2 separate regions of the Homo sapiens genome follow, and region 1 is linked to region 2. The links are contacts of gene promoters, found by promoter capture Hi-C in human tissues and cell types (Jung and others, 2019). All regions are on one chromosome and are shown on one strand. Each heading gives the region's core, a stretch centred on a gene start or on the middle of the fragment in contact. The rest is flanking DNA. Distances are from core to core; before and after follow the strand shown. Region 1 overlaps TRIP13 (thyroid hormone receptor interactor 13). Region 2 holds the start of LRRC14B (leucine rich repeat containing 14B).

Evidence for each region. The method cuts DNA at HindIII sites, captures the fragments that hold promoters and counts their contacts. A contact is called where the count stands out against the background at its distance.
Region 1: a fragment that was not itself captured here is called in contact with the fragment with the promoter of LRRC14B in region 2 in 2 of the 25 tissues and cell types used here (lymphoblastoid cells and mesenchymal stem cells).

The regions. Positions count from the first base shown.
Region 1 is chr5:911,056-916,777 of GRCh38, forward strand. It overlaps TRIP13 (thyroid hormone receptor interactor 13), which reads left to right. Exons shown (of 13, transcript NM_004237.4): 10 at 788-941; 11 at 3,410-3,522; 12 at 4,849-4,918. Among named protein-coding and RNA genes, the nearest start is that of TRIP13, 21 kb to the left of the region's middle. The HindIII fragment of the contact is 4,728 bases long and covers 2,107-5,722 here.
Region 2 is chr5:189,996-195,847 of GRCh38, forward strand. It overlaps LRRC14B (leucine rich repeat containing 14B), which reads left to right and starts at 1,500. Exons shown (of 2, transcript NM_001080478.3): 1 at 1,500-2,442; 2 at 4,713-5,852. The coding sequence starts at 1,544. The coding sequence ends at 5,358. LOC124900929 (a long non-coding RNA gene) reads right to left here and starts at 4,732. Exons shown (of 2, transcript XR_007058670.1): 1 at 4,367-4,732; 2 at 2,733-2,993. RefSeq lists an enhancer at 1,165-1,214. The HindIII fragment of the contact is 15,773 bases long and covers 1-5,513 here.

The DNA of each region.
Region 1 (5,722 bases), core at 3,221-5,720, 720 kb after region 2:
CTCTGCTGGCTCATGCTGGGTCCTTGGGGGACATTGGTCAACAGACCAGACAACAGGGGCTCTCTCTATGGAGTTTAGACGCTAGAGGGGAGAGCAGATCATGAACATGGGAAGTAACCCAGCTCTAGAGTATGTCTAGGGATGATGAGTGGCCATGCCCAGGTGGTGGTGGGCACCAGAGCCCACGGTAGGTGGCACAATCAGGAACGCCATGCGAAAGTGAGATCCTTGCTAGGCCGGGCGCGGTGGCTTACGCCTGTAATCCCAGCACTTTGGGAGGCCGAGGCAGGCGGATCACGAGGTCAGGAGATCGAGACCATCCTGGCTAACACGGTGAAACCCCGTCTCCACTAAAAATACAAAAAATTAGCCGGGCACGGTGGCGGGCGCCTGTAGTCCCGGCTACTTGGGAGGCTGAGGCAGGAGAATGGTGTGAACCGGCGAGGCGGAGCTTGCAGTGAGCCGAGATAGCACCACTGCACTCCAGCCTGGGCGAAAGAGCGAGACTCTGTCTCAAAAAAAAAAAAAAAGGAAAGTGAGATCCTTGCCAAGGTTGAAGGCAGTGAGGGAATGAGCGAAGTGGGGCTGTAGAATTCCCAGAAGGCCAAGGAGCAGCGAGAGCAAAGGCTGGGGGGTCTGCGTGGCCTGTGTTGGCACAAGGCCACTTTCCTTCCTGTTGGCAGCCTGCTGGCCATCGTCCTGCCAACCTCCTTGCCAGATAGGGCAGGATAGAATTGGGTCACCGACAGCCGTGATGACTGTGGTGCTTGCTTCTCGGCCACAACAGGCATTCCAATGTTGTGATTCTGACCACTTCTAACATCACCGAGAAGATCGACGTGGCCTTCGTGGACAGGGCTGACATCAAGCAGTACATTGGGCCACCCTCTGCAGCAGCCATCTTCAAAATCTACCTCTCTTGTTTGGAAGAACTGATGAAGGTACCTTTATTTTTTTTTTCCTCTTGATACAAATGGATTTCTTATATGTTCTTAATTAATTAAGATAGCTTAAAATAAGCTCGTTCCAGTACGGAGGATTTCAACATATGCATTAACTCCCTTCTTAAATTGAAAACTAGTTTTGTATGTGACAGGTTGAGCTGATAGTTGAAACTAGGGCCACTGACTCAATATTTTTGTTCTTTTGGCACAATACAGTCATCATTGTTCATTATTTGAGGTACCAGTCAGTGTAGGGGACGTCAGTGACCGGCTGTGTTTACCTGGCTGGCTGCACAAACCTTAGTTCTCAGCTTACCCCGGGCTTTTCCAATGCCCTGCCTCTCGGGGGCCTGTATCCTTACCTGAAAGAGGAAACATCACGGGCGTAGTATGGGCCTGGTTTTGGTCACGGGGTCCACATGACGTCACGTTCTTGAGTCGCCTGTTGTGATGATAGGCAGGAACACTGTTGCCGTGGGCAGAGCGACGCGTGCGGGTTGTGTGTGTGAGTCAGGAAGGCCGTCGCCACGGGCAGAGCGACGCGTGCGGGGAGCGTGTGTGAGTCAGGAGGGCCGTCGCCACGGGCACAGTGACGTGCGGTGAGTGTGAGTCAGGAGGGCCGTCGCCACGGGCACAATGACATGTGCGGTGAGTGTGAGTCAGTAAGGCCGTCGCCATGGGCACAGTGACGCGTGTGGTGAGTGTGCGTGAGTCTGGAACGCCGTCGCCATGGGCAGTGACGCTGCGGTGTGTGTGAGTCAGGCTAGCAGGGACCTGCCCCATGCTTGTGTTTCTGCTGCTCTAGCCCCTGTGGGAACAGACCTGTCCCAGACAAATCATCCTGCAGGGGCCTTTGTTTAGGGTAGTTGGGCGGTAACCAAGCAAACCAGTGAATGGGGATTTAAACAGTGATGAGTTTAATGCAGTTGTTGCCACCTGCTGGTACCACAGAGTAGGGGTGTTAACAAGGATGGCACACCCTGCTGTGGTTGGGGACGGGAGAACTGGTCTCAGCCATGGACCCACTGGGCCTGCCCGGGTCAGCACTGTCCAGGCATGGTTTTCTTGGGGGTTGGGGAAAGGAGACGGAGCTCTGTGGAGCTTTGCCTGGAGAATGCCAGTGATCTGAAGACTGATTCTACAGCAGTTTTGCTGCCAAGGAGCCCCACGTGATAGCAGATCCTGCGAGGAAGTCGTGTGTGTTGGAGGTCCTCACGCACCTTCAGTGTGGGTTCCAGCCCTCGCAGTGTGACGTTTATACACTTGTACACTCGTGCTGTGAATCCAGGGGCTGTTTAAAGTGTTAGCTAAGAGGGATGGACTTTTTCTGGGACAGTGTAGGACAGGGGTAGTTTTTTGTTTGTTTGTTTATTTTGAGACACAGTCTCACTCTTACCTAGAGCTGGAGTACAGTGGTGCCATCGCAGCTCACTGCAACCTCCGCCTCCTGGGTTCAAGCGATTCTCGTGCCTCAGCTTCGTGAGTAGCTGGGATTACAGGTGCATGCCACCACACCTGGCTAATTTTTGTATTTTCAGTAGAGAAAGGGTTTCATCATGTTGGCCTGGCTGGTCTCAAACTCCTGACCTCAAGTGATCCGCCCACCTCAGCCTTCCAAAGTGCTGAGGTTACAGGCGTGAGCCACCGTGCCCAGTGATAGGGGTAGTTTCTTATTTTAGGCAGTTTATATGAAATTAAGACATGCAGATGTCACAGTGGATATTGAACTGGTCTCGAAAGCTCAATATCCCCCAAAGCACAAGCACAAACTGTCTTAATTTTGCTCACACCCCTCAACAAACCTCCAAAATGTTCAGACAATGCTATTTTCTTCCTTCTCCTTGTTCCTGAGTCAGAACGGTTCGTATTAGAATTCAGTCATAGTAAGTCAGTGTGCGCACCTGACTGTTGGCAAGGCTGCTTGGAAAAGCATGACTTCCAGACAAATGATCTCTGAGGGGAACTTCTGGTGCTCAGCTCCTCGGTCAGTCAGACACTGTCATGCTGCCAAACAAGCCTCACCTTTAAAACAGACAAACTAGGATCCTGCTTTGGAAGTCAGTGGAAGTCCTGGCTCTAAGTCCCAGCTCTGCCCACTGTGGGTTTTGACGTCTCCGAAGGTGGCATAACAGACTGGACTGGGTGCCTCCAGGTCCCTTCCCTTCCTGACACACAGGGAGGAAAAGTTTTGGCTCGAAACACAGAAGAGGCTATGTTGCTACTGGTTTCTGAGGCATGTTCCGTTATTTGTATTTGTTTGAAAAAGCAGAATGTGTACGCTGAGAGGCATGAGAGAGCGAGCTTGTTCCCTAGTGCAGCTGTGCATCTTGAGTCGTCACCGTCTGGATTTCTGTGAGACGTGGCGTGGTTGACATTTGACCTGCAGGTGCTGTCCCTCTTGCTGACGGTGCCTACGCTCAGGCCTCTGTGGACTCAGCTAACCGCCTGTACTTCTGTCTCCCCAGTGTCAGATCATATACCCTCGCCAGCAGCTGCTGACCCTCCGAGAGCTAGAGATGATTGGCTTCATTGAAAACAACGTGTCAAAATTGAGCCTTCTTTTGAATGACATTTCAAGGTGCAAATTGACCTCATTTTTGTAATCAAGAAGAATCCATTTGTGATATTAACTAGGGAGTCATTGTTTCCTTTGAGGAGACCAGGGAGGGCCCTGGGTGTGAACTCTCAACACAGTATAGGTATGAACATGCATGTACACACGTGTGTGTGTGTGTGTGTGTGCATGTGAGTAGAAACACGCAGCACAGCCACCTCCTTCCAAAGGAGATGTAACCCTTGCTCAGGGAGGGCGCTGGCTCACACTGGAAGCCTGCAACCCTACGGCTGACGACACTTACAAGGATTCGCAGAGTCCACAGAAAGGAAATGGCTTTGGGGGTCCAGGGAGGGTGGAAGGGAAGGTAGGAAAATCAAACGGTGCCTTGAAGGATAGAATTTGGTTCCAGCTGGAGAGAAATCAGGAAGGCTGCTGGAGCAGTGTGTTCAGGTGACCGTCTAGTGGGTTGCAGTGTGGAGGCTGGGGAGGTGCCGGAGAGGCGGGGGGTGGAATGGACAGAGCCTCGGGTTTCTGGCCAGAGTTTGAATTTTATTTTGAAGTTGGCAAGAATGTGGAAGGCTTTAAACAAGGGATAACATGAAGAATGTAGTATTTTTTAAGGATTTGGATTATCTGTTGAAGAGATTTAAATCAGTTAAGATGGGAACGAAGAACAGTTCAGAGACTTCTACAAAAATTGAAGATGTGAACCCACCCATTATTTGGGGACTCTGTGCCTACTGACCATGTGCCCGCTGCATCGTGCCTTACGCCTGGTGCTCCCAGGCAGGTGATGCCTTCCCTGAGCGCAAGGATGCTGGCCCTGGGGCAGAGGCTCCCGGGCAGGTGATGCCTTCCCTGAGCGCAAGGATGCTGGCCCTGGGGCAGAGGCTCCCAGGCAGGTGATGCATTCCCTGAGCGCAAGGATGCTGGCCCTGGGGCAGAGGCTCCCGGGCAGGTGATGCATTCCCTGAGCGCAAGGATGCTGGCCCTGGGGCAGAGGCTCCCGGGCAGGTGATGCCTTCCCTGAGCACAAGGATGCTGGCCCTGGGGCAGAGCACACAGGTGTGCCTTGGGTGTGCTTCAGAGCCGCGAGGACACTGCCTCCCAGAGCAGGAGCTGAGGATGGGGAGAGACCGGCCCCATACGAGAGGCCGGGGGCAAAGAGACATTCAGAGGGCAAGGCTCAGGAGACCAGTGAGGGGCAGGAAGTGCCCTGTGAACCCAGGGTGTGCTTGGGACGCCTCGGCTTGTGTTCCCAGGGATGCCTCGGCCAATGAGGAAAATTAGTCCTGAAACGTGTGATTGTATAAATTGCTGTCTCTGAACTGGGTTTTCTTTACACAGGAAGAGCGAGGGCCTCAGCGGCCGGGTCCTGAGAAAACTCCCCTTTCTGGCTCATGCGCTGTATGTCCAGGTGAGTCTCCACTGCTGTCCTCCAGCACCCGCCCTGTCCACAGGTCTCAGCCTCGCCGGAGATTCCGCTTAGTAGCCCTGGGGTATCAGCCTCATTTTATCTCAGTTTCTAAACCACAGGGTCCTGGGGCCGGAGGAGGAGCTGACCTTGGCACCGAAACACAGGGGCTGTCTTGAGTCCTTTGGGAGGAGGCGGCTGTGCCACATGCCTCTGCTCACACGCATGCATGCACACACATGCACGTCTGCCTCTGTGGTGTGCTGAGCTCGTGGCCAGGGCCCTCGCTGGCCTCACCAGAGGTTTGTGCTCTTTCAGTCTGGGTTCAGCTCACATAGAACAGTGACCTGGATCCACAGCCTCACCCACTGGGTGCTGGGCCTGTTGCAGATGCTTCGGCCTGGGGCACTCACCCCTCCCCTGCACTGTCCCCAGCAGCCGGTTGGGGTAAGGACTCAGTGTCTGGCAGAGCAGATACACTTACATCTGAGAAGAGAAAACCCCCATCTTGGAATGTTTCCTTTCAAATCAGAAGTGACTCAGGCTCTGTCTGATCAGTAGCAGCCTCTGTGCTGGACACAGTGCTCAGCACAGAGGTGACAGTGGCCATGGATCATGAGTGGGAGCCTTTTGATGCAGGGGAGGTGACAGCTCTGGGCACTGGGCCATGGGAATTCTCTGGTTATAAGCCTGGGACATAGGGTGGGCCCTCCAGGGTCTGCTCCCTACAGCTTCTCATCCTTCTCAGTGTGTGGGTGGCTGCCTTGGTGCTCCCCTGCCCACCCCCGCAGCTGTTTCTGACATTCA
Region 2 (5,852 bases), core at 250-2,749:
TATCTGGTCCTGGAAAGGGGCCGTGTGTCTGGGGAAACCTCTTGTGCACCTCATGAGGGGAGCCCGGGGGCCCACATCGGCTGGCCGAGGGCGGCCACCCCTGAAGGGTGGGGTCAGGGCCCACCCACCTCTTCACACACACCTCCGCCTGCTGGACAGTGCCTGGGCCCCACAACGGAGCACAGTCCCTTCTGCATGGGTCGCCTCCCGGGGAGAGGCATTGCTCAGGCTCAGGGAACAAACTGGGGAGGGTCAGACAGGGAGGCTGGTGGGGCACCCATGACCAGCACCCTCCAAGCTTGCTCAGCAGCCTTCCCCCTCCCACTGCTGTTTCTCTTTCTGTCTCCCCGTCTGTCTGTCTTTCTCAGTCTCTGTCTCTGCCTACCAGTCTCTCTCTCTCTCTCTTAGTCTCTGTCTCTCCCTTTCTGTCTCTCTCTCAGTCTGTCTCTTTCTGTTTCCCTTTCTCTCTCCCTCAGTCTCTGTCTCTCTCCCTCTTAGTTTCTGTCCCTCTGTCTCTGTCTCAGTCTCCGTCACTCACTTCTCTCAGTCTCCCTCAGCCTCTGTCTCATGGCCGTGACCCTCCAAAGCCCATGGACACGTGGTGCCCTGTAGTGATGTGTGCAGTGATGTGTGCAGCGATGTGTGCTGACCCTGCCCTGAGTGGCAGTGTCACGGGGAGAGGTGAGTGCAGCACCCATCAGCTGTCCAACACGGTCAGTGCTGGGAGTGAACCATCAGGCACCGCCCCCCAACACAGGTGTATCCCATTCCCTGCAGCTTTCCCTGCCGCACAGGCGGCAGGGTTGCAGACAGGACACTGCAGCTCAGAGAGAGCTGGGGGCTCATCCGAGGCCATCAGGGAGGCTCCACCTCTCCCAGCCACTCTCTCCCATGGAAAGTAGGGAAGCCACCCCCGCCGGGTCCTTGGGGAGAAGGAAAGGCACAGGGAAGGGGCAAAACAGCAGCTCCATTCCTGGCCACTCGTCTCACCCCAGATGCGAGGCGAAGTGTGGGAGCGGCCCCAGAGGCCACTGTGGAAAGGGAACTGGTTACCGAGTGAGGCGCAGGGGCCTGGCCTGTTCTCTGCCCCGTTGACTGGTGGGGGAGGTGCCCAGAGCTGGGCAGTAGCCCCGCTTGGATGGTAAACAGGACCTGCCCGCTGGCCTCACCGGCCGCCAGCACGAACGCCTGCCAAGACTGGCTTTCTGCAGCATGGAGCACAGGCTTCTCTGCCCAGCCCTGCCATGGGCACGGGCTGCCTTTCTGTGTCGGCTGGGTGCCTGAGCCAAGCAGCTCCCAACGGCTGGGTGCCTGAGCCAAGCAGCTCCCAACGGCTGGGTGCCTGAGCCAAGCAGCTCCCAACGGCTGCGTGCCCCGAGGCCGGGCAGACGCAGGTGTCCCAGGACCAAAATAGCAGTCAGATGATCATAAGGCCCCGTGGCAGGGCCCCCAGGGCAGGCTGCTCACAGCTGCTGCAGCTAAAGATAGGCGTGAAGGGCACACGCCTTGGGGAAAGTCGTGGGGAGCGGTCCTGTCTCGGGCCATGGACACAATGAGGTCACTCCGCTTCATTTCTGCAGAAGCTCTGGTGTCCCACCCCCAGGTGGCCCGGCAGAGCCTGGACAGCGTGGCCCACAACCTCTACCCACTCCTGTTCAAAGCCAGCTACCTGCTGGAGCAGGCGGAGGTGACGCGCGCGGTGCTGGGGCGCTGGCCCCTGGAGGAGTTCCGGCTGGGAGCGCTGCTGGGTCCTGGTGCCGACCACCCCCAGGACCTGCGCGACAGAACCTGCAGGGCCTGCCTGGAGGCGCTGGTGCGCGGCCTCGCGGACCACGTGCTGCAGGACCGGAGCCGCCGGCGGCTGCGGGTGGCTGACCTCACGGGCATCCGAGATGTGCAGGTGCAGCGGTGCCCGTGCGGGAGGGCGCTGGGCAGGTGGGGCCGCACCCAGCTGCTGGCCAGGACCTGCTGTGAGCTGCAGGCAGAGCCCCTCGCAGCCGGGCGCCCCGTCGAGGTCCTCGCCGACCTCTTCGTCACTGAGGGCAACTTCGAGGCGGTGGTGCAGGCTCTGAGGCCAGCGGGCCCGGCCCCTCTGCGGGTGCACTGCCCCTCGTTCCGGGCGGACAGCCTGAGCCCCAGCCAGCTCCTGCACGTGCTGCGTCTGGCTGGCCCGGGTGCCCTGCGCAAGCTGGAGGTGGTGCACAACGTGCGGCTGCATGCGGGCCACGTGCAGCAGCTTCTGGCCCAGGTGGGCTTCCCCCGGCTGGCCTCGCTCACCCTGCCCACCAAGGCCTTTGATGCACCCCCCACCTACGCCTCCACTCCCGACGGCGAGGACCCCCTCCTCGCCTCCATCGCCCGGGAGCTCAGCAAGATGGCGCAGCTCACTGAGCTCAGTGTGGCCTTCTCCACGCTGACCGGGAAGATCCCGACGCTGCTTGGGTGAGTCTTGGGGAGGGGACTGAGGGCGGGCTGGTGGCTGCAGAGGCAAGGAGAGATCGTCCAGGGGCCTGCTCATGTCCAAGGCCATGAGGCTACACGGCCTCCAGCCTCTCACTCCGGGTGTGGCCACAGCCACAGGACAGCGGCCCCGCCAAGGGGCAAGAGCACCGAAAGTCAGAGCCACCAGGAAAGAAGCGGGCTGCCATGTGTGACTTAGGGATGTGGAGAGAATGCCAGTTAAAAAAAGAGAATACGGAAATTACCAAACAGACGAAACAGAAGTGCCTACGTGGTGTGAGGAGTTGTCTATTGTTGATGAACGACTCACCCCAACACTTGGGGGCTTCAAACAGCAAACACGATTTCAGCTCAGAAATCTGAGCCTGTCGGTGCCTTTGGCTCAGGGCTGCTGTTGGCCAAGGGTGCCATCTCATCCGAAGGCCTGACAGGGCGGGATCCTCCCAGTCTCCCTCGAGGGAGGCCTGGGCTCCATGCTGCATGGACCTCCCCATGGTGGGACAGGAGGCTTATGCAGGATCCTCTCAGCAGATCTGCGTGAAGGAGGCAGAGAGGGCAGCAGCTAGGAAGGGGCCAGGCCAAGGCAGCCTCAGGCAGTGGTGAGGGGGATGCCCGGCGGTGGGTCCAAGGGGGGTGCCCAGCAGTGGATCCTGGAGGGGGAGTGCCTAGCGGTGGGTCCAAGGGGGGTGCCCAGTGATGGGTCCTGGGGAACGGGGTGCCTGGCAATGGGTGCTGGGAGGGAGCCTGGTGGTGGGTCCTGAAGGAGGGGCAGCTGGCGGTGGGTATTGGGGTCACCGGGTGATGGGTCCTGGTGGGGCAACCTAGCGGTGGGTCCGGGGGGCACCCAGTTTTGGGTCCTGGGGGTGGGACCTGGCAGTGGGTCTAGGGGGAAGGGGTGCCTGGTAGGTACTGGGGAAGCACCTAGAGGTGGGTCCTCAGGTGCTGGGGGGTGCCTGGCGGTGGGTTCTGGGGGCTGGGGGCACATGGCAGTGGGTCCTGGTGGGGCGTTTGGCAGTGGGTTTTGGGGAGAAGTGCCTGGCGGTGGTAGGGGTGCCTGGTGGTGGGTCCTGAAGTGGGGGCACCTGGTGGTGAGTCCTGGGGTGGGGGGTGGCTGGCTGTGGGTCCTGGGGTGGCACCAGGCAGTAGATCCTGGTGGGGGATGCCTGGCGGTGGGTCCTGAAGGATGGGGGTGCCCTGCGGTGGGTCCTGAGGGATAGAGGTGCCCTGCGGTGGGACCTTGGGCAGGGGGCATGCCTGGCGTGGTTTCTCAGGTGGGACAGGGGCACCTGGCAGTGGTCCCAGTCCTGGGTGGGGAGGGACATGTCCTGGGCGGGACATGCAGGTGGGTGCAGGTGCAGGTGGGTGAAGAGTGAGGCAGCCTCCTAAGGAGAGGGTTGGGATGGGGCAGACCCCAGCTGTGTCCCCCGGCTCAGCGAGGACAGTGAGGCCATGTCCCGATGCAGTTCTGCTCTGGAGATCTCCCTTAGCTCAGAACCAGAGTAGGTCTCACTCCAACTGCCCCTGTATTAGAGCTAGGCTGCCCTACACCAACCAAGTCAGAATATGGGATGTGGGGCAAGTTGGGGGGTCTTTAGGGTTCCCAGGTGAGTCAAAGGCTGTACTGGAAGCCTCCATGGCCCTTCCCAGCTCTGAAACCATGCGGGATTCATCTTTGTCAGAGTGGAGCGGCACTGTCCTGTGGTCTCACTGCCCCCCGCCGTCTGCTTTCTGAGCAGACATTCTGTCCTGTGGTCTCACTGCCCCCCGCCGTCTGCTTTCTGAGCTGACATTCTGTCCTGTGGTCTCACTGCCCCACCCCGTCCACTTTCTGAGTGGACGTTCTCGTGGTCACATGCATCACTTTTCTCAGACAACACAAAAGCAGCTGTTGACAAAACAAACTTACCATTTAGGTGCTGAGGACAAAAGCCAGACCTCTGGGTATAGCTGACTTCACCACGTGGCGGCCGGCAGTCATGGCCAACACTAAGCGAATGCACGTGGTTGTGCTCTGGTAAAATGTTATTTATGGACACCGAGTTTGAATATCATGTAACTTTTCACGTTTCACAAACTATTATATAAATATAACAACCACTCCTAGCTCATAGGCTGTATGAAATTAGGCGGTGGTTGGACGTGACTGTGTGTTGACCCCATGATGGACAAATGGGTTGTTCCCATTCGCCTGAGCCCTCGGCTCCTTCCTGGGACCCTCCTCTCACCTGTGCTCTTTCCCCCGTGTCCTGCAGCCCCCTACAGACCCCGCTGCGAGTACTGGACCTGGCCAACTGTGCCCTGAACCACACGGACATGGCCTTCTTGGCAGACTGTGCCCACGCTGCCCACCTGGAGGTGCTGGACCTCAGTGGACACAACCTGGTCAGCCTGTACCCCTCGACCTTCTTCAGGCTGCTCAGCCAGGCTTCCCGGACGCTGAGGATCCTGACACTGGAGGAGTGTGGCATCGTAGACAGCCACGTTGGCATGCTGATCCTGGGCCTGAGCCCCTGCCACCGGCTGCGCCAGCTCAAGTTCCTCGGGAACCCGCTGTCGGCCCGCGCCCTCCGGCGCCTCTTCACCGCACTCTGTGAGCTCCCCGAGCTGCGCTGCATTGAGTTCCCGGTGCCCAAGGACTGCTACCCCGAGGGTGCCGCCTACCCACAGGACGAGCTGGCCATGTCCAAGTTCAACCAGCAGAAATACGACGAGATCGCCGAGGAGCTGCGTGCCGTGCTGCTGCGGGCTGACCGAGAGGACATCCAAGTCTCCACACCTCTCTTTGGAAGTTTTGACCCAGACATTCAAGAAACAAGCAATGAGCTTGGTGCTTTCTTGCTGCAAGCTTTCAAAACTGCTCTAGAAAACTTCTCCAGAGCACTCAAACAAATAGAGTAGTTCCTCCACTCGCACCAGTGACAGGTCTTGCATTTCAGCCTGCAGGTGCCCCGGGCTTTAGTCCTGGATCTGAGGCTTGGGCCCGGCATTCATCCCCACCACCACCACCACCAAAAGCAGTTCTTAGTGAAAATTGTAGGCGAGCCTGTTAAGCGTTGTAGAAGAGGAAGCCTTCCAGGAGAGGTGCCATGCGGTGCCCTTTAGTGGCAGCACGGCAAGGTTCTGGAGGCGGGGGAAGCCACCAAGAGACAGTGACAGGGTCAGCGGGGGCAGACGCCACATGGCAAAGAGCAGAGAAGCCCGGGAGGTGTGAGGAGTGGCCGACCTGGCCTCAGCGCATCTGGGCACTGGGCGCAAGATGAAGCTTCAGGGGGCAGATGTGACTGGGCTCCACAGCAGGGAGGGGGAGGGGAAGAGAGAACACATCACAGAAACTGCACAAAATAAGCAGCCCATGAAAAACAACCGAGAAAAAGAGGCGAAAAATGAACAGC